3 separate regions of the Homo sapiens genome follow, and regions 1 and 3 are each linked to region 2. Evidence: promoter capture Hi-C in human tissues and cell types (Jung and others, 2019). All regions are on one chromosome and are shown on one strand. Each heading gives the region's core, a stretch centred on a gene start or on the middle of the fragment in contact. The rest is flanking DNA. Distances are from core to core; before and after follow the strand shown.

What was found. The method cuts DNA at HindIII sites, captures the fragments that hold promoters and counts their contacts. A contact is called where the count stands out against the background at its distance.
Region 1: a fragment that was not itself captured here is called in contact with the fragment with the promoter of PTGDR in region 2 in 3 of the 25 tissues and cell types used here (IMR-90 fibroblasts, lymphoblastoid cells and mesendoderm cells).
Region 3: a contact is called between a fragment that was not itself captured here and the fragment with the promoter of PTGDR in region 2, in 1 of the 25 tissues and cell types used here (mesenchymal stem cells).

The regions. Positions count from the first base shown.
Region 1 is chr14:52,466,692-52,470,547 of GRCh38, forward strand. It overlaps TXNDC16 (thioredoxin domain containing 16), which reads right to left. Exons shown (of 21, transcript NM_020784.3): 15 at 3,821-3,856; 16 at 3,346-3,482. Among named protein-coding and RNA genes, the nearest start is that of TXNDC16, 84 kb to the right of the region's middle. The HindIII fragment of the contact is 7,192 bases long and covers 1-3,856 here.
Region 2 is chr14:52,265,317-52,269,323 of GRCh38, forward strand. It overlaps PTGDR (prostaglandin D2 receptor), which reads left to right and starts at 2,382. Exons shown (of 2, transcript NM_000953.3): 1 at 2,382-3,344. The coding sequence starts at 2,499. The HindIII fragment of the contact is 10,952 bases long and covers 1-4,007 here.
Region 3 is chr14:52,498,462-52,502,188 of GRCh38, forward strand. The region is part of intron 9 of TXNDC16 (thioredoxin domain containing 16); the gene reads right to left. Among named protein-coding and RNA genes, the nearest start is that of TXNDC16, 52 kb to the right of the region's middle. The HindIII fragment of the contact is 3,404 bases long and covers 1-3,282 here.

The sequences.
Region 1 (3,856 bases), core at 1,262-3,761, 200 kb after region 2:
CCGTCTCTATTAAAAATATAAAAAAATTAGCGGGGCATGGTGGCAGGCTCCTGTAGTCCCAGCTACTCGGGAGGCTGAGGCAGGAGAATGGCGTGAACCCGGGAGGCGGAGCTTGCAGTGAGCCGAGATCACGCCACTGCACTCCAGCCTGGGTGACAGAGCAAGACTCCATCTCAAAAAATAATAATAATAAAAAATAAAGAAAAACAATAATGAAGCATAAAACAAGCAGCAGATATCCAAATCAGTTAAGAGAATAAGTATAAATTACTAATGTTCACCTAGTAGAGTCAATAGAAAAAAAAACAAGAAAATATTTAAAAAGACAGATCAGAGACTTGACTCTATATTCAACATGTATTATAAAACTAATAGACTAAGTATCAATAGGTAAAGTGAATAAAATAGAAAACAATTAAACAGACATATATCACACACACACACATATAGATAAGGACAACATGGTGCTGGTGAAATCACATATAGAGGAGAAAAAAAGGATAAACGTTAACTATTAGAAAAAAAATTAAGTTGGCACCAACACTCATCCCATGCACTAAAATATCTAAAGGGTTAAAAACTTTTAAAAAAGGGAAAAAAATCACAATCAACAGAGTAAAAAAGCAATCTATGGAATGAGAGAAAATATTTACAAATCAAATCTTTGATAAAGGATAATATCCAGAATATATAAAGAATTTCTGCAACAAAAATATAAATAACCCAATTTAAAAACAGGCAAAGGAGTTACAGACATTTCTCCAAAGAATATATACAAATGACCAAGAAGCATAATGAAAAGATGCTCAGCATCACTAATCGTCTGGGAAATGCAAATCAAAGCCACAACAAGATATCACCTCACACCCATTAAGATGGCTATCATAAAAAATAAAATAAAATAACGAATATTGGCAAGGATGTTAAAGTCATTGGAACCCCTGTACACTGTTGGTAGGAATGTAAAATGATGCAGCCAGGGCGGAAAATAGTACTGCGGTTCCTCAAAAACTAAAAACAGAATTACCATATGACCCAGCAATTCCACTTCTCAGTATGTACTCAAAATAATTGAAAGCAGAGTACCAGAGAGATATTTCCATACCCATGTTCACAACCGCGTTATTCACAACAGCCAAGAGGTAGAAGTAACCCAAAAATTCATTAATGGATAAACAGATAAACAAAATAAGATATATACATACAATGGAATACTATTCGGCCTAAATTGGAAGGAAATTCTGACACACACTACAATATAGATGAACCCTGAAGACATTATGCTAAGTGAAATAAGTCAGTCAGAAAAAGATAAATACTGTATGATTCCACCTGTATGAGGTACATAGAGTAGCCAGACTCATATAAACAGAAAGTAGAGTGGTGGTTACCAGGGCCTGGGAGGAGGATGAAATGAAAAGCTGTTGTTTAATGAGTACAGAGTTTCAGTTTTGCAAGATGAAAATGTTCTGGAGATTAGTTGTACAACAATGTGAATATACTTAATACTTGTAAAACATACACTTAAAAATGGGTAAGATGGTAAATTTTACGTTATGTGTATGTTATCAAAATTTTTTTAAAAGAAAAAATATACAAAGCAAGACAAATTAAAATAGGAAAATATTGTAAATTAAAGCAAGAAAAAATACAGGTGAATATTAGGTGACAAAAATGATAGGGTTTTTTATAGCTAAAAGCAATAGAAGAAATCTTAAAATCAATAGATTAAAAAAATTTTAAACTGTGATATACAAAATTATCATTAAACAAAGCTAAAGAGCAAATAACAGACTGAGGGAAAATAACTGAAACAAAATGACAAAAGCTTAATATCCTTAATATACAAAGGTCTCACACCAATTCATTAGACAAACAGTAAAACTCCATTTTAAAAAGTGAGTGGGCAAGTACAGTGGCTCATGCCTATACTACCAGCACTTTGGGAGGCCAGGGCAGGAAAACTGCTTGAGCCCAGGAGTTTGAGACCAGCCTGGGCAACACAGGGAGACCTCATCTCTATGAAAAATTAAAAAATTAGTGGGCATGGTGGCACATGTCTATAATCCTAGCTACTCAGGAGGCTGAGGTGGGAGGCTCACTTAAGCCCAGGAGGTTGAGTGTGCAGTGAGCTGTGATTGTGTCACTGTACTCCAACCTGGGCAATAGGGCGAGACCCTGTCTCAAAAAAAAAAACAAAAAACCATGAGTAATGTATATAACCTACAATTTATAGAAGACATACGTTATTCTATTGGGAACCTAAACTCATTATATGGTCTAAAATCCATACAAAGACTCAAAAATATTCTTCACATACAGAAGGAAAAAAAAAGGAAACAGTACAAATATTGTTCATAAATAGTTAAATAAGGCCAGGTGTGGTGGCTCACATCTGTAATCCCAACACTTCGGCAGGCCAAGATGGGTGGATCACTTGAGCTCAGAAGTTCAAGACCAGCCTGGGCAACATGGTGAAATCCTGTCTCTACAAAAACACAAAAAATTAGCTGGGCATGGTGGCACATGTCTGTGGTCCCAGTTACTCAGGAGGTTGAGATGGGAGGATTGCTTGAGCCCAGGAAGCAGAGATTGCAGTGAGCCGAGATCATGCCATTGCACTCCAGCCTAGGTGACAGAGCAAGATCTCGTCTCAAAAAAAAAAACAAAAAACAAATTTAAATACATTTTGATATATATATTCACCAAATATTATGTAGCCATAATGTTCATGAAGAATATCAATACATCATTGTAATGTTAAATAAAAACAAGATTCTGGCTAGGTGCGGTGGCTCACCCCAGCACTTTGGGAGGCCAAGGCAGGCGGATCATGAGGTCAAGAGATGGAGACCATCCTGGCCAACATGGTGAAACCCCGTCTCTACTAAACACACAAAAATTAGCTGGGCATGGTGGCATGTGCCTGTAGTCCCAGCTACTCAGGAGGCTGAGGCAGGAGAATCACTTGAACCCAGGAGGCAGAGGTTGCAGTGAGCCGACATCACGCCACTGCACTCCAGCTTGGTGACAGAGCGAGACTCTGTCTCAAAAAAACAAAACAAACAAAAAAAACGCAAGATTCTAACCTAGATACACAGTTTTAGCCCAATTATGTTAAAACATACATAAATATGCAATCTGTAGGTACACAGAAAAAAGATGGAAGAAATTACATCAAAATTTAACACTATCTCTGAATAATTAGCTTACGATATTTTATTTTTCTTCAAACTTCTCCATAATTTTGAAATTCTCTATAATTTAAAAAGATATTCTTAAAAAATAAAACTAGCAAGCAATGATATACTCTACTGTATAATTTAAAAGCTCAGCTCTGCTTACCTGTTTTCATGGTTGGACTAAATAGTCCCAATACTGACACACTAGAATACAAGATGAGGTCTTTATATAATTCCCCACTTAAATATTCTTCTGCTTCTTGGATCGATGTTATATTCACTGGATATGAAATCCTGTTGCTGGATAAACATATAACTATATTACAAATTAATTTTTTAAGATATTTTCAGTTTGTAAAAAAAAAGCATACTAAACATAGCAAACAATATATTACATAGGATAATATCTTACAAAATATAGAAAATTAAATATTATTCTTAAAGAAAATCAGACTCATTAAACAAAATTGCTATCTCCCGAAAAGTGTTGAAATGTACACAGACTTTCATAAATATTCATTTTGTGATCTCAATTCTAGTATCTTCCTTAACCTATTTTAAGTGTTAGCAAAGTCTGAGAATTAGAACTTCTAAAGACCTAAACATTCAGAGATCTTATAATGAAGCTGAATACTTACAGCTGGATAAATTTTAGGAGATCTTCGGTTCCTAAC
Region 2 (4,007 bases), core at 1,132-3,631:
GACTCCAAAGTTAGGCCTGAGAACAGGGTAGGGTGGACACCAGCAAAGCAATCAGGAAAGGCAACCGGAAACCCCATCGTAAAGGCCAGCTACAGTGGCTGAGAGGAAACGTGTGGTTTCCTGAATTGCACTTGTTCAAAACCTTCAACCTTAAAGCATGATGTATGTAAACCTTATCAAGGACCCACAGCTGGCCCAACAGTCACACTTTGGGGTTGTTTTCTTTAAAAGGTATTTGTAATCTTAGGGTTCCTAGGATAAATACGGAGTTGTAAGCCACTGTAGCATGAAAATAAAGCTGCAAAGAATTGAAGTAGGTATGCTTCAGAAGAACAACCCATGCAATATTTTTAGAGGAAGGATTCTTAAGCTAGTGTCCATTGGGTCTCCTCTGGGTACCATAGAAGGGCTTCAGGAAATGGTGAACAGCCTGAGATTGATGTAAAGTGTGTGTGTGTGTGTCTGCGTGTGTGTCTGTGTGTGTGTGCCTGTGTGTGTGTGTGTGTCTGTCTGTCTATGGAGGAGACCACAGCTTTCATCAAATTCTCATGTCTTTTGGTTATGGGGCCTGCTCTTCCTTTCACTTCATTAAGTCGAGTGGGGCTCTTCTAAACCCATTCTTATGTGCTAGGGGCTAGAGATGGGAATGAGAGAGAGTAGGTAGAAGACAAGGGAACTAACTCTATACAAGGCCTTCTATTGAGTCAATATAAGTGAAAGGCTTAGAGAGTGTCCAACCTGCATCAGGACCAATAAATATTAGCTCTTATTATTATTATTACACTATGCCAAAGCACTTCAAGTTTTCTCAACCTCACAACAACCCCACAAGTTCAGCATAAGTCTCATATTCCATTAGGTTGAACAACTAACCCAGGGTCACACAGCCAGTGGTGGAGTTCAGAACTATCTAATTCCAAGCTTAGATTCTTCTTTTCCACCCTGTGGCCTGAATTACTGGCCAGACTTTCAGTCTGGAGGCAGCCTCTCTGTCTACCCTTCAGGCTTTCACATCTAAATCCCAAGGGTCTTGCTCTTTCCCTGAGTCTGTCCATCAGAACTGGCATGAGGCCTAAAAATGAGCCGTTTCAAGCCCAGGCATCATCTACTCACTTACATAACAAAACCTTAGTCATCCCACTGAGATTCCACACTCAAAGCCAATTTCTCTCACAGGGCATCGAATGCTAGTTAAAGATATAAAATCACGCTTATCACAATTAACTCCCTTGCCTTTATGATGCAGCCAAGTCAAAGCCCAAACAGGAATAAATTTTTTCTAGTAGCCACAAATCAGAGGAGTGAGAAAGCTCTATGCCAAATCTACCATTTTCTGATTTCAAAATCCATGCTAAAAACTGCAGTTAAACATCAGCTACCAAAACACCCTTCTATCAAATAAGAATCATGGTGATTGCATGAATTGAGCACTTTCTATGTACTTGCTCTTTACGTGTTATTTCTATGCCTCAGAAGAGCCAAGCAGGCCAGATAGATGTTACTGCTTGAGAGGCTAAGCAAGTCCCATAAGGTCACACACACAGTGAGGAGCAGAACCTGGACTCAAACCCAGGCCTATCTGATGACAGCAACAGTGCTGCTAACCATGCCCTTCCCCCCAGCTCTCTACAGTCAATGTGATTCATGGCACCCAGGACCAACACCGGCTCTTGGCTTTCCCACAAACCACTTCCCTGAAATCTGGACAACTTCTTGGGAGGAGGAGTCATGGGAACAGGACAGATGAACTCCAAAATAGAAGATCGGGTGAGAGGTCCGGCTCTGCTACTTCTGTAGCTCTGTCACCACGGGCAGATCACTTAACTTTCCAAGGCCTCAGTTTCCTCGCCTATGCAATGGAGATGACCGTGAATGCCCCAAATTGCGCTGATCTAGTAGAGAAGAGGAGCTAAGGCTCAGGGGCTTTCCAGACGTGAGTTATCTTTACCTTTCCTTGACTAGCTAATTCAAGACAACTAGGTAGAAGCCCTTTCTCAGCCTCCCCTCTTCGCTCATCTTTCGAGTTCTTGGCCACCCCAGTTCAAACACCAGCACCATTGCCCTCCTCTCAGGTGGCTGCTGCTTAATTTCCCCTCCACTTTAGTAGTTCTTCTCTTGCCTCGCTAGAAGGACTGGTGTTGGGTGCTTGGAATTCTGGCTATTTTCCTCCTGCCGTTCCGACTCGGCACCAGAGTCTGTCTCTACTGAGAACGCAGCGCGTCAGGGCCGAGCTCTTCACTGGCCTGCTCCGCGCTCTTCAATGCCAGCGCCAGGCGCTCACCCTGCAGAGCGTCCCGCCTCTCAAAGAGGGGTGTGACCCGCGAGTTTAGATAGGAGGTTCCTGCCGTGGGGAACACCCCGCCGCCCTCGGAGCTTTTTCTGTGGCGCAGCTTCTCCGCCCGAGCCGCGCGCGGAGCTGCCGGGGGCTCCTTAGCACCCGGGCGCCGGGGCCCTCGCCCTTCCGCAGCCTTCACTCCAGCCCTCTGCTCCCGCACGCCATGAAGTCGCCGTTCTACCGCTGCCAGAACACCACCTCTGTGGAAAAAGGCAACTCGGCGGTGATGGGCGGGGTGCTCTTCAGCACCGGCCTCCTGGGCAACCTGCTGGCCCTGGGGCTGCTGGCGCGCTCGGGGCTGGGGTGGTGCTCGCGGCGTCCACTGCGCCCGCTGCCCTCGGTCTTCTACATGCTGGTGTGTGGCCTGACGGTCACCGACTTGCTGGGCAAGTGCCTCCTAAGCCCGGTGGTGCTGGCTGCCTACGCTCAGAACCGGAGTCTGCGGGTGCTTGCGCCCGCATTGGACAACTCGTTGTGCCAAGCCTTCGCCTTCTTCATGTCCTTCTTTGGGCTCTCCTCGACACTGCAACTCCTGGCCATGGCACTGGAGTGCTGGCTCTCCCTAGGGCACCCTTTCTTCTACCGACGGCACATCACCCTGCGCCTGGGCGCACTGGTGGCCCCGGTGGTGAGCGCCTTCTCCCTGGCTTTCTGCGCGCTACCTTTCATGGGCTTCGGGAAGTTCGTGCAGTACTGCCCCGGCACCTGGTGCTTTATCCAGATGGTCCACGAGGAGGGCTCGCTGTCGGTGCTGGGGTACTCTGTGCTCTACTCCAGCCTCATGGCGCTGCTGGTCCTCGCCACCGTGCTGTGCAACCTCGGCGCCATGCGCAACCTCTATGCGATGCACCGGCGGCTGCAGCGGCACCCGCGCTCCTGCACCAGGGACTGTGCCGAGCCGCGCGCGGACGGGAGGGAAGCGTCCCCTCAGCCCCTGGAGGAGCTGGATCACCTCCTGCTGCTGGCGCTGATGACCGTGCTCTTCACTATGTGTTCTCTGCCCGTAATTGTGAGTCCCCGGGCCCCGAGGCAGCAGGGCACTGAGACTGTCCGGCCGCGGATGCGGGGCGGGAAGGGTGGAGCGGATCGGGATGGACGCGGCGCCAGGCGAGCTGCGCCCTGGGCCAGGAAGGTTTGCTGCTGAGTTCCCCAAATTGGATTCCTTCCACAGCCCCGAGATATAACTCAGTTTGCGGAGCGAAATGAGGGAAAGTTAGAGAAAGGAAGGGAAAGGCTGAGCCCGGCGGTGTCTCCCTAGCCCAGCAAAACCCTCTCCATGTGGCAGAACTCCCTCCTCTCTGCTTCCTTCTGGGGAGATCTCGAGGTCATTTTTGCGCCTTAGGAGGAGCAGAACTTAGTTTCTCCTTGGCAACAGGAGTCTTCTACTTCCCGACGGCTGGGTGATGTTTTATTTTGTTAGACCTGCTCATGACTTCAGTGGTATCAGAAATGGGCGAATGGCGTCTGGGACGATCTTCTCCCCGGTGTTGGCATAGAAAGGGAAAAAGAGGTTTAAGCCAGCCAGAGTGATTTGCAGATGCATAGTTTTAATTTTGAAAAACGCGTGCGTAAACTTTGAGACGCCACGGCTGCTGTTTCTGGTGCTGCATCCGCCAGGGATTGTGGCGATGGAGGCCGAGGCTCTTTGTATGTTTTAGCTGCTGGTGTCGTT
Region 3 (3,727 bases), core at 331-2,830, 230 kb after region 2:
GAACCATTTTGCAGGATACAAAATCAGCATACAAAAATCAGTTGCATTTCTATACACTAATAATGAGCAATCCAAAAATAAAATTAAGAAAATAATCCCATTTACAATAGCATTGAAAAAGAATAAAATACTTTGGAATAAATTGAACAAAGGAGGTAAAAGACCCTTATACTGAAAACTACAAAACATTGCTGAGAGAAAATTTAAAAGACATAAATAAATGGAAAGACATTCTGTGTTCATGGATTAGAAGACTTAATAATATTATTAAAATGTCTATACTACCCAAAGCAATCTACAGATTCAATGCAATCCCTATTAAAATCCCAATGGTATTTTTTGCAGAAATAGAAAAAAAATCCTAAAATTCATATGGAATCTCAAGGGATTTCAGATAGCCCAGACAATCTTGAGAAAGAAGTACAAAGCTAGAGGCCTCACACTTTCTGATTTCAAAATATATTACAAAGCTACAGTAATCAAAATAGCCTAGTACTGGCATAAAAACAGACACATAGACCAATGGAACAAAATAGAGAGCCCACAAATAAACCTTCATGTATATGTTCAAATGATCTTTGACAAGGATGTCAAAACCACTCAGTAAAGAAAGGACAGTCTCTTCAATAGATGGTGCTGGGAAAACTGGATATCCACATGCAAAAGAATGAAAATGGACCCTTATCTCACAGCATATACAAAAGTTAACTCATAATGGATTAAATACCTAAACATAAGACCTGAAAGTAAAACTCCTAAAAGAAAACATAGGGGGAAAAGTTTCATGACATTGAAATGGGCAACAATTTCTTGGATATGACAACAAAAGCACAAACAACAAAAGCAAAAATAGACAAACTAAAACTTCTAATAGAGTAAAAAGACAACTGAATGAGAGAAAATGTCTGCAAAACATATATGAGATAAAGAGTTAACATACAGAACATACAGAGAACCCCCATAATTCAATAACAAAACAAATAACTCAATTTTTTAAATGGACAAAAGACTTGAATAGACATTTTTCCAAAGAAGATACACAAATGGCCAAGCATATGAGACGATACTCAACATCACTAATCATCGGGAAAATAAAACTCGAAACCACCATGAGGTATCATCTCATATCCTTTAAAATGGCCACTATCAAAAAAAAAAAAAGAAAAGAAAGAAAAGAATGACAAACGTTGGTGAAGATATGAAGAAATGAACCCTTGTGCACTGTTGGTGAGACTGTAAAATGGTGCAGGCACTATGAAAACAGTACAGTCATCCCTCAGTATCCATAAGGAATCAGTTTCTCTACACCCCTTAAATATACCAAAATCCATAAATGTTCAAGTTCTTTATATAAAAGTCATAGTATTTGCATATACCTACACGCTCCATCTTGTATACCTTAAAATCATCTCTAGATTATTTATAATATCAAATACAATGTAAATACTATGTAAATAGTTGTTATACCATAATTTAATTTTGTATTATTTTTATTGTTATATTTTTATTTTTATTGGGTTTTAATTATTTTTCATCTGCAGTTGGTTTAATCCAAGGATGCAGAATCCACAGATACAGAGGGCTGAGTATATGGAGGTTCTTCAAAAATTAAAAATGAAACTACCATATGATCCAGCAATCCCACTTCTGGGTATATTTTCAAAAGAATGAGAAAAAAGATCTCAGAGAATACCCATGTCCATTGCAGCATTACTCACCATAGCCAAGAGGTGGAAGCAACCTAAACGTCTATCAATGGATGAATGGATAAATAAAATGCGGTATATACGTCCAACGGAATATTATTCAGCCTTAAAAAAGAATAAAATCCTGACATACACTACAACATGGATGAACCTTGAGGACATTATTCTAAGTGAAATAAGCCAACTGCAAAAACAAATATGGCATAACTCAGTGTATATGTGGTATCTACAGTAATCAAACTCATACGAATGGAAAGTAGACTGGTGGTGTCAAGGACTGCGGTCAGGTAGAGGGGAGATGTGAAGTTGTGTGTTCAATGAGTATAGAGTTTCAGTCGTGCAATATGACAAAGTTCCAGAGACCTGCTGTACAACAACGTACATCAGCTAATACTGTATTATACACTTTCAAATTGTGATGAGGGTAATCTTACACGGTTTTTACAACAATGGAAAAAAAGTCTCTAAAATAACCATGTTAGGAAACACTATGCTGCACAATATTGCACACTGCCACATAAGTTCTCTAGAAATAGGAGCTAAATGAATAAATCATAACAGCATCTTTCTAATTTCCTATATAAAAGAGTAGGTTTAACTTAATTCAAGTGTCTTGAATCTGAGACAGACAGCTAGATGAACAAACAAAAAATAATGTAAAAATTTCAGAAATTATTAAAAATGTATAAACTTACCCATCTTTTAACATTTTATTAGATATTTGCACTTGAGAATTCAGATTCTCAATTGGGATTCAGATAAAAGCTTTCCTTCTATCTACAAATATAAACTGAATCCATCATGGAGAAAATCATCAGCATTCTAAAATGTCCTTGGTATTTGCCAACAGGACAATAATTGAACCATTTTCCCATCTGTGTTCACTGTTGGGAACCTTAATAATACATCTAAAACAACTCCATATCTGGCAGAATCTTACTTAACCTATTTAAGATTGAAATTCACTTAAAAATTCTATACTCAAGATTTATTTTCAGTTTGACATGATCAAAATGACACACCTCCCATCGTGAGTATAAGACATAGTTGTGTTATATATCTACAATTAGGTGTCCAAGTACCCTGTTTACCTAAAAGAAAAAAAAAGCAATAAACACACATACAAAAGCAATCTGCATCTATTTTCATATGCTTAGAAGTGAACTAATAATACATATAATTGCAATGATCAGACACAATGCCGTTTACAAAAAAGCCTGAATCCTACTTTCCATTTTTATTAGTTTATAAAAAGACTTTGTAAACATACCAAATTATTTCAGATCCTGAACCCAGAAACCCAGGCTAATTTGCAAAGCATCTTACCAAACACACAAAACCCAACCATGATTAAACCCCAAGGGCTTGTATATAGAATAATGTCTAAGATAACAGGGGGAATGAGCTTCAGTAGTACTATGAGAGAATAAGAATAAAGCAAGAAACATGAATTCAAAGTCCTATGAAGTCGGCTACTAATAAGAACCTGTAAGAAGTCAACAAATTTAGGTACCACCTTTTGGGACCTCTCTATCTCATTCCAGTTAACTATACCATCAAAGGGTATAACCCGTTAGAACAAATTTTGGTCTAAGAGGTGTTTCCTATAAAAGTGTTTGGCGTGACTCAGTTTTTTTAACCTCAAATGTATTATTTAAGAACAAAAAACAACCTCAAATACTGATATGGTCAAATGTTTAAAGAAATAAAACATAAAAGTGACCAAACCAGCTGAGGATTCTAACATCTTCCTAATTCCACCGGGGTAAGCCTTAGCCACCCGCCAATAGTCTCAAGGAATCTTTCGAGGCTTTGTCTCCTTTTCTGTACTCTGCATTCATTTTCTCTGTTCTGGTCTATGAAAGTCCACGAATCTGTGCTTCTAGGCCTCACTCTGCCAAGTATTCCTAGGCTGACATCAAGGTTTGAATTCTCAGCTTAGCTTTCCAATTTGGCTCTGATCTTCAATTCAGCCTTTCAGATCTTTCTTGGTTTTATGCTACTGGTCATTCCTACCTATT